Linked DNA regions of Homo sapiens: region 1 is linked to region 2. The links are contacts of gene promoters, found by promoter capture Hi-C in blood cells and fetal thymus (Javierre and others, 2016). All regions are on one chromosome and are shown on one strand. Each heading gives the region's core, a stretch centred on a gene start or on the middle of the fragment in contact. The rest is flanking DNA. Distances are from core to core; before and after follow the strand shown. Region 1 has its middle 17 kb from the start of SYK. Region 2 holds the start of SEMA4D (semaphorin 4D).

The links. Contacts are between HindIII fragments. The CHiCAGO score rates a contact against its expected background, and 5 or more counts as called.
Region 1: a fragment that was not itself captured here is called in contact with the fragment with the promoter of SEMA4D in region 2 in 1 of 17 cell types (total B cells); the score reaches 6.6 in total B cells.

What each region holds. Positions count from the first base shown.
Region 1 is chr9:90,782,294-90,786,837 of GRCh38, reverse strand. No RefSeq gene overlaps it. Among named protein-coding and RNA genes, the nearest start is that of SYK, 17 kb to the left of the region's middle. The HindIII fragment of the contact is 5,045 bases long and covers 763-4,544 here.
Region 2 is chr9:89,496,565-89,500,928 of GRCh38, reverse strand. SEMA4D (semaphorin 4D) reads left to right here and starts at 2,816. Exons shown (of 16, transcript NM_001371194.2): 1 at 2,816-3,010. RefSeq lists silencers at 2,727-2,916, 3,347-3,496. The HindIII fragment of the contact is 2,547 bases long and covers 2,397-4,364 here.

The DNA.
Region 1 (4,544 bases), core at 2,036-4,535, 1.3 Mb before region 2:
TATTAACATTTTCTCGAGTTCATTCTTTAGTTTTCTCTTATTTATTCATTTATTTGTGCCAACAATATGATTTAAACGTTTTATATGGAAAAAAAATCAACTATGATTTCTAGCTTTGATACCTTTGTTATTCCAAATATATAAAAATGTTCACTCCTTTTTTTTTTTGAGTCTTGCACTGTCGCCCAGGCCAGAGTGCAATAGTACTATCTCAGCTCACTGCAACCTCCACCTCCTGGGTTTAAGCCATTCTCCTGCCTCAGCTTCCCAAGTAGCTGGGATTACAGACGCCCGCCAGCATGCCTGGCTAATTTTTTTGTATTTTTAGTGGAGACGGGGTTTCACTATGTTTGCCAGGCTGGTCTCAAACTCCTGACCTCGTGATCTCCCCATCTTGGCCTCCCACAGTGCTGGGATTACAGGCGTGAGCCATAGCACCTGGCCACCTTTTCACATTTAATTATTTGTAATCCATTTGGGATTTTGTTTGGTCATAAGGAGCAAGATAGAGATTCTATTTCTTTTTCCCTAGTGGTTAGTCAGTTTATCCAACAATCCATCTTCTCCTCACTGATTGGTACTTAAGCTTTATCAAATGCCAGATTGCTTAAACACCTGGGTTTAGTTCTGGTGTTTCTTTTGCTTTTCATTGATCTATCTAATATCCAATAGGATGTTGCTGCTTTAATTACTACAGCTTTGTAATTTTGCTTCATTATAATTTTTTTTTTCAGGATTTGAGAAACTCTGAGGGCAAAAGCTTCTCCCCTCACAAGATGAGATTTTAACTTTTATTATCAGTACACATAGAAAATACGTATGTGTATGGATTCATAGACAACAGATTCTCTGATTCAGTTTTGAGAATAACTCAAACCCACCAATCATTGATTGGCACCATGTTGGGGGATTCACGCTTCTATTTTGAGAGTGGGATGGATAGCACTCAGCATCTCAGTGTGTGCATCATCACTGGTGCACAAGTCCCCTCCAGATGTCAGCTTTGCTCTGGGACTGGTTTGCTCCATCCCTGGGGGCAGAGGTACATCCAGCAATTTTGCTCCGGGGTCCTGTCTCTAGGATAGAAGAGGTTTTAGAATCTCTAAGTTACAGTTTTGGAGAACTCCAATATTTATAAAGTTCTTTCACACGTTTTACTTCCTAAGACATCTCTCTCTCTCTCTTTGTGTGTGTGGGTTAAAGCTGCTTTCTGAAGTTAAGACTTTGTCCTTTATTGTCACACAGTTTAGGTGTTTGGAGACTACTATTACCAGCATGGCAAAGTGGCCTACAGCACTGACCGTGGAGCCAGATTTGGTTCAACTCCCAAGTTTATAACCTACTAGCTGTGTGACTTTGTGCAAGTTACTGAGCCTCTCTGGGCCTTGGTTTCCTGATGTGTAATAGACTCTCCCTCTTGCATCTGGGCTGCCCTATTACTGCTTTGACCAAGAGAGTGTGGCAGAAGTGACGGCATTTTTATTTTAAGCCTAGCCTTTTAGAGGATGGACAGCTTAGGTCTTGGTCTCTTGGAACCCTGAACTGCCATGTAAGAACTCCAAAGATTGCTGGAGAGGCCAAAGGGTGGGGCAGAGTTGGAGGTGCAAAGCTGAGCCCAGTCTTCCCCAATCTTTGCCAAGGCTGTGTTAACAGCCTGAAAGCCAGCTGAGTGCCTAGTTAATGCCATGTGAAGCAGAAGAATCACCTAGCTGAGCTCCGCCTGAGCTTCTGAGTCACAAAATCGTGAGATATTTAAGAATGATTGTTGTTTCAAGGCACCAGGTTTTGGGGTAATATGTTACATAGCTTACCTAGTAATAGCTAACCAGAACAGGTAGTGGTGTGAGGTTGTGCCTAGGGCCAACTTCATAATCTGTGGGGCCCAGTACAAAATAAAAAATGGATCCTGGTTCAAAAAGCAAAATAAAATGGCCATTAAAGGTATTAAAATATAAAACCTTTTTTCTCTTCTGTTGTCTCTTTCAAGATGTCAGTGTTTTTTTAAATTTGCTATTGAATGTCATTCTAACTAAATAAAAATAGAAATTATAAATTATTAATACGGACTTTACCATTTATCTTTACATAGAATTTGTTATGCCAGTTTTAAATGTAAACATAAAAACATTGGACTCGTATGCGGAATCACCAAAATTACACAATTTGCACTTTGTAGTTCTTATGTGCTTATATAGTTCATTCTTTACGAGAACAGTGGTGATGCTGCACAAAACAAACTCAGTCATTTCTATTTCACTTCTTGCTATGTGCACAAGCACCAGCACCCTCTCAGCACCAGCAGTCTGCAGGCAGAGTCTGCCATTAAAGGGGTCGTGACTACCTTGGGAAATACACTGTGGTCCATTAAAGGGGTCGTGACTACCTTGGGAAATACACTGTGGTCCAGAGCACACCAGGCACCAGGAATCGTGACCTTTTATCTGGATGCAGGAAAGAGAAATGATCTTTGAGGTCCAGGGTGCATATTGGAGTGGCGTAATAGGAGCTAGGGGGAGAGAAGTTATCATCCTTCTTGTGGGTGTTAAAGAAACATCCAAATTAGGATGGCAGTCACGTGTATATTTCACATTCCGCGGCTATTTTCATGGCCTTACTGGGAAATGTGCCTGGGAATTAGATTTTCTTATACACGTGTCAAGCCCTGGGAGTGTTATTTGAAAGCGTGCTATTTCTTTATGAAATTTAATACTTTTGTCCTTGGAAAATGTCTGAGATATTGCTGACCAAGGATGTTTTTAGTATACAGCTGATAACACTGTTATTGTTGTACTCTGATACATCTCGATAGCAAGCCAAATTAACATGACATTCTGCACCTTTACGATCTACCATCTAACTTTCCTAGATAAATTCTGAGAAATAAAAATAAAATTCTAAGTCCCCTAACTAACTGAATGGACTCCCTCTTTGTCCAAGGAGCCTCAGAGAAGCCTTAAAAACTGAGTTGCCAGCCATGCCAGGCACACAGGAGGTGGGACACGCCTTGTTATGCCACCTCCCTTACTGCCATCAATCTTCCTTCTCTAACAGACAGAAACCAGCTCTTTTGAAAGACTCGCTTCACCTCTGATTTACACAACAACTGACTGGCATTCCTTCCTGATAAAAGACCACTGGCCGTAGACTGGCTCTGGCAGGTATTCACAGGCTGCAGACAACATGCCCCTGTGTCCTTGCTTTCACTTTGTGACATACAGAGTGAAATTATAATGCAATTAAATGTAAGTCTTCACCCCAAATGAATATGAGATGAATGTAACATGGATGTTTGCTTGCTATGAATGTGTGCACCCCCTTCATAATTATTCTCAGCCCTTCCTATAACTATTGAATATGTATACTTAGCTAGCCCATTCAGCCCAAATTTCTGTCTCACCTTTCCCTCTTTCAAAGTGCCTGCTTTTGGTTTCTACCAGAAGCTATGCTTCCCAGCCTGCACAGTGGGCAGCCTGCTGGATGCAAGCCTTTATAAGAAATAACACTCTCCTCTCCAAATTTATGAATCTCATGATTCTTTAGTTAACAATTACCCAAGCCAGATACTTCTTACTTGATGAATATTTCTTAGGTGAAGAGCAGCTGAACTTTAATACAAAATTCACATATTTATTTGTCTTTAAAACACTGTGTAATTGGCTGGGTGCAGTGGCTCACACCTGTAATCTCAGCACTTTGGGAGGCTGAGGTGGGCAGATCACCTGAGGTCAAGAGTTTGAGACCAGCCTGACCAACATAGAGAAATCTCGTCTCTACTAAAAATACAAAATTAGCCGGGTGTGGTGGTACATATCTGTAATCCCAGCTACTCGGGAGGCTGAGGCAGGAGAATCGCTTGAACCCAGGAGGTGGAGGTTGTGGTGAGTGGAGACTGTGCCATTGCACGCTAGCCTGGGCAACAAGAGCGAAACTCCATCTCAAAACAAACAAACAAACAAACAAAAAAACATGGTCTAATCCATTCTACAGCACATTTCTACAATCATCAAAAGTGGAAGCTCAATATGGAGAAACAGAGACATACCTGCAAAAATTTTTGTATACAGTTTTTTCAAGATCTCAGCTTTCCAATATAAAACATACATACTTTATGTTGACAAAACAATGAGAAATTGTCCTTACATCTCTCTGCCAACTGCATCTTCTTCCAACATCTATTATATATGCAATGTCTACTGAGCATTATGCAGGCCTAAGCTCTGGGGGTGCAGGACAGGCAAGGTCTCTATTTTGCAGAAGCAAACAGTTTAGCAGGCAGATAGGCAATCAACAGTAAACTGATAAATATGTGATATGTAAAGGCATGTTTAATAAGAGCCCTTTCTTTTGAAACAGGACACAATTGCAGGTGCTGGTTATTATACCAAGGCTTTGACTAGAATAACATTATTAGGTGAAGCTCCAGCAAAGTCAACTTGAAAAGAGTCTCTATGGCCAACTGTAAAAAGTAAAGTAGAGGTTCCTCTTCAAAGACTTTCCTCCCCGTCTAATTAGGAATAAATAGTAACTTCTCTTAGAAGCAAAAT
Region 2 (4,364 bases), core at 1,567-4,066:
TGTGCCACCATGCCCACCTAATTTTTGTATTTTTAGTAGAGACGGGGTTTCACCATGTTGGCAAGGCTGGTCTCGAACTCCTGACCTCAGGTGATCCGCCTGCCTCAGCCTCCCAAAGTGTTGGGATTACAGGCGTGAGCCACTGCACCCAGCCTGCTACTTTTATATCTATGTTTGAAATGTCCCACGACAGAGTGTGAAACAAGAATAAAAAGGCAAGCTTGGTCACTTTGGGAGACATAGGCAATCATGCTGAGAGAAGGGAACAGGGAAGAAGGTCAGAGAGGAGGGAAGAGGAAGACCTAATAATGGCATCCAAGTCCCGGTTCTAATGGTACTTGGGGCATCTTTGGATGCAAGTGAGCCAATAGTATGGGCTGAAGTTCTATCACTTACAACTAAGAGTCCTGTCTCCTTCATGAATGCAATAAACATGTTTGGGGGCAATTTTATATAAGCACGGTGCAAAGAAGCCCTTGTGTTCGCAGCCTGGGCATTGCGGAAAGCTTTTTGGAGTTTTTACTGAATTCTCTCATGTTCTTCTGTATGCATTAGGAAACAGGCTAGAGAGGACAGTATTCTGGAAGGTCATGATGCCAGAAGTGTGGGCCCCAGGACAGCCATGCAAAGTCTCTTCTTTGCCCTGGGCTGCCCTCTATTAGATTCTGAGCATGTGGGTCTAAAAGCCAGGAGAGAATTCAGCAGTTGTTGAGAAGCATACCCCTCTGCTGCTGGTCCCCTCCCTGCAGTGTGTTCCCAAGGTGGCCCCAGGCCTGTCTAGACGCTGGCTGTGAAGGGCACGCTCCTGTAGGGGCAGCCGGCTCTTCCACAGTGAGGTCTGTCAGAAAGCGCCCACGATAGGCAGGAATCCACTTTCTCATCTAATTTCCACCCATCTGTCCTCATTCTGCCCTTCATAACACCACAGAGTAATCCTTCTTCCCGGGACAGTTTTGCACATATTGGGGTTCTTCTGTCTTGTGCTCCACACATTGATTTTCTAGGCTGAAGACTCCCGGTGGGTCAACTCCCCTCCCACGGGATACTGCTGGCTGCCTTAGACACCAAGCAAGGGCATGGTATTCTAGATGTGTCTGACTAGTGAGGAATAAAAGAGAGTCCCCCCACCCCACCCCAATCAGTGCAATGCTTGCATGTGTAGATCCTAAGCGTGCATCCCTCCTTGGGTATAGAATGCTGTTAAACCAGTTCTGTCCTAATCCGTTCCCATTATGTTTCAATCCAAATGGGATGTGGAACATGGATTCATGGACCCCTACAATTGGAAAAGAGCTTGGAAAAGACTTCTCTAGTTTTTCCTGTAATAGTCACCAGCACTGAACCCGAGCACACGGTGCAGTGGGCTTTACCTGCCATTCTCTCTCCGTGCTCCCCAAACCCTCCAGGACGACCACACTGTCCTCATGTTGCAGGGTACAGAGGTTTGCTGAGGCCTGAGGTTATTTGGAAACTGCAGAGCTGTGAGTCAAGGGAGTCTATCAGATTCCAGGTCTGGATTCTTCAGCAAGAGGGTGGTGGCTGCCATGCCGTAGAGGGAGGAGGGGGTGCGTGCTCCACCCCACCCTGCTTGACACCAGCTTTGCCATCTTAGCCTTTGCTGGGCCGAAGCCCTATTCTCAGAGCTCCGGCACTGAACCACAGAAACCACAGGAGGCCCTAGAACGGAACTCTGAGACTGTTGGGCCTTTAACTCTGTGACTGTTGGGCCTGGGACTGGCTTCATTTGTAAACTCTGGCTCTCAGAGCCAGTGCTCAGCAGGAAAACAGCCTCAGGGCCCCTGCCCCTCAACAGCAGTCTGTAGTCCAGGGAGGTATCACCTGGCCTGGAGAGGGGCTCCCCAACTCCTCACATTTAGGGGAAATCTTAGCTGGTTCCGTAAGAAACTGTGTCCCCTTCTCAGGACTGTGTTCCTCAATAGGCCTCCCAGCCTGGCCAGTCACTGTGCGAGCCCTGTCACCTCTCCTGGGGGCAGAGGGAAGAGGTCTGGATGGAGCAGCACCATCTCTGAGGGCCCCCAGATCCCCAAACCCATGGGCTAGTCACAAACAAGTCTCACCAGCAGCCTCACAGGAGGACCATTTGCCATACAGAGTGGAAAATGATGAACGTTTGGCAAAAGGCTAGCACGGGGGTTCAGGGAAACCAAGACTCCAGGTGGTGCCAGCCCCTCCCCTGGGGAATGGGAGCAGCCTGGTGTGAAATATTCTTGCCCAAAGTCAGCAGCCAAGTGTTCTGGGTGCCACGTGCCTCACGCACACTGCAGGTCAGGTTCTCAGAAGAGCTGGCCCAGGGTCTGGGGGTGAAAAAAAACTGGGGGATTTGGGGGAGGCCTGGAAAGGGTGGGGTTCATCCAGGACCCCAGAAGGGGCAAGCTTGTCTATTGAGAGCTGGTGAGGAAGAGGGTGACAGGGCACCTCTTGGTCCTGGGAACGGGTGCTTGACTCAGCAGAGACCAACCCAGGGCTGAGGGACAACCCTCTGGGCCTGGCGGGGAGGCAAGAGAGATGGGAGGTGAGGAGGAAGGAGTGGGGAGCAAAAGTGGGGAGAAGGGGAGAGAGGTGGAAGAGTGTTGCGAAGGTGAAGAAAGAGGAGGAAAAAGAGAAGGGAGGAAAAGAAAGGTTGGGGGAGGGAAAGGAGGGAGGTGAGCAGGGGCGAGGAGGAGGGAGGAGGAAGGAGGAAGAAAGGGGCGGGGCCATAGGAGGGAAGAGAAGAAGGGGGAGAGGAAGGGGAAGGGAAAGGGGAGGAGGCGGGAAGGGAGGGGGAGCGGAGGAGGGGCCTGCGCGCCCGCCCCGCGCACTCCGTCCCCGCGCCGGCCTCAGCGCTCTCGCGCGCCGCAGCATCCCAGCCGCCGCTGCCGCCGCCGGGCCTCCCCGCCACCCCCTCCCCGGCCCGGCCGCCTCCCGCCGCTGCCGCCGCCGCCGCCGCCGCCATTCCTGGCGCCCGAACTCGCCCGGCCGGGAGCCGCCGCGGGCAGGACGCGCGCTGCAGGTAAGCGGCCGGGCTGGCGCGGGAGGGAGGGCGCGCGGGGCCGGGCAGGTGCGCTGGGGGCGGCCTGGACCCTCCGCGGAGCCCCCACTCCACACCCCTAGGCTCCTCACCGGACCCTCGGGGCCCTCCCCGAACCCCTGCAGGAGCCTCCTTCTGGGATCCCCGGACCCCTGGACTCCTTCCTGGATCCCCCCGGGGCCCCTCCTGGGACGCCTCCCAGAGACACCTACCCGGACCCCTCCGACCCCCTGGACCTCTCTGCTATCCCTCCCCGGCCTTCTCCCCTTCCCGGTTGCCTCCCCAGTCCCTGCGCGCAGGTGGCTCCTCTGGGCGCGGGGGAGCGGGGGCGCGCTGCATACCCGGGCCAGGGAGGGGGCGGTGCGCTCGGCCAGGCCCCGTCGCGCCCCGGCCCGCCCAGTCCGGCCCCGCCAGGTCAGGCCCCACTCCGGCCAGCCGGGCTCTGGCCGGGCCCCCGCGGGCTTCTATTTTGGTCGCGGAGGCCGCGGACCCTGTGCACTGGACCCGGCGCCGCGCACTCAGACAGGTGGGGCAGGTTGGGCCGCAGTGGTCAGGTCGCCGCCTTGGCAGTGAGTGCTGCAGGCCTCGGTTTCCTTTCGGGTTTTGGTTGCATTATTCTAGAACAGCCCAGGAGAACCACAAGCCTTAGCTTGGGCTGCACCTGTTGCAGCCGCCTAGTGAGCTGCAAGGGGCTGGCTCTACTGGGGTTATGCCAGTAAAAACGTGTAAAGGAGAGTTGAACTCGTGGTTGTCCTCTATTTTCTGGCTTAGTATTTTGGGGGGTAGGTGGGAGAGTGGGTGAATGGGAGTCTGTAAGTGGGCAGTTTGCGTCAAATGAGGCCTGGTGTCGAGGGCTGGGTCCTGCTTTCCGGAAGGTTTTCCACATGAAGTTGCTTTGCTTTTGTTTTGAAAACCTCACTCTGTGTTGAGCACATCCCAGGCTCGTGGGTGGCCAGGCCCCCGAAGGCCAAGCTGGACGTGGGGCCTGGGGCCAAGCATCTCACCCTGCTGTTCTGAGTCTTTTCAAATCCACCAGGCGCCACGGAACGGAAGTTTCCTTTCCTGGGGGTGACGTGACACCAGTGGCCTGTCACCTCATATGTGTCCTAGGCCTGGGGCCTGCCTGCTGGCTGCCCAGGCGAGGTTATTTGGGAATGTTTACTGTGTCCCAGAAACAGGCAGCTCTGGCCAGTGCAGGGGCAGGATTCTGGTAGAGATGATAATGCCCTGATTGTCATTTTGACAGTTGGTGTCTGCGTATATCATGTCTTGGTAGTCGTCAGCCAGAAGAAGAAAGCAGGCGGGCTCAGCATACCCACCAGGGAGGCTGGGGTGG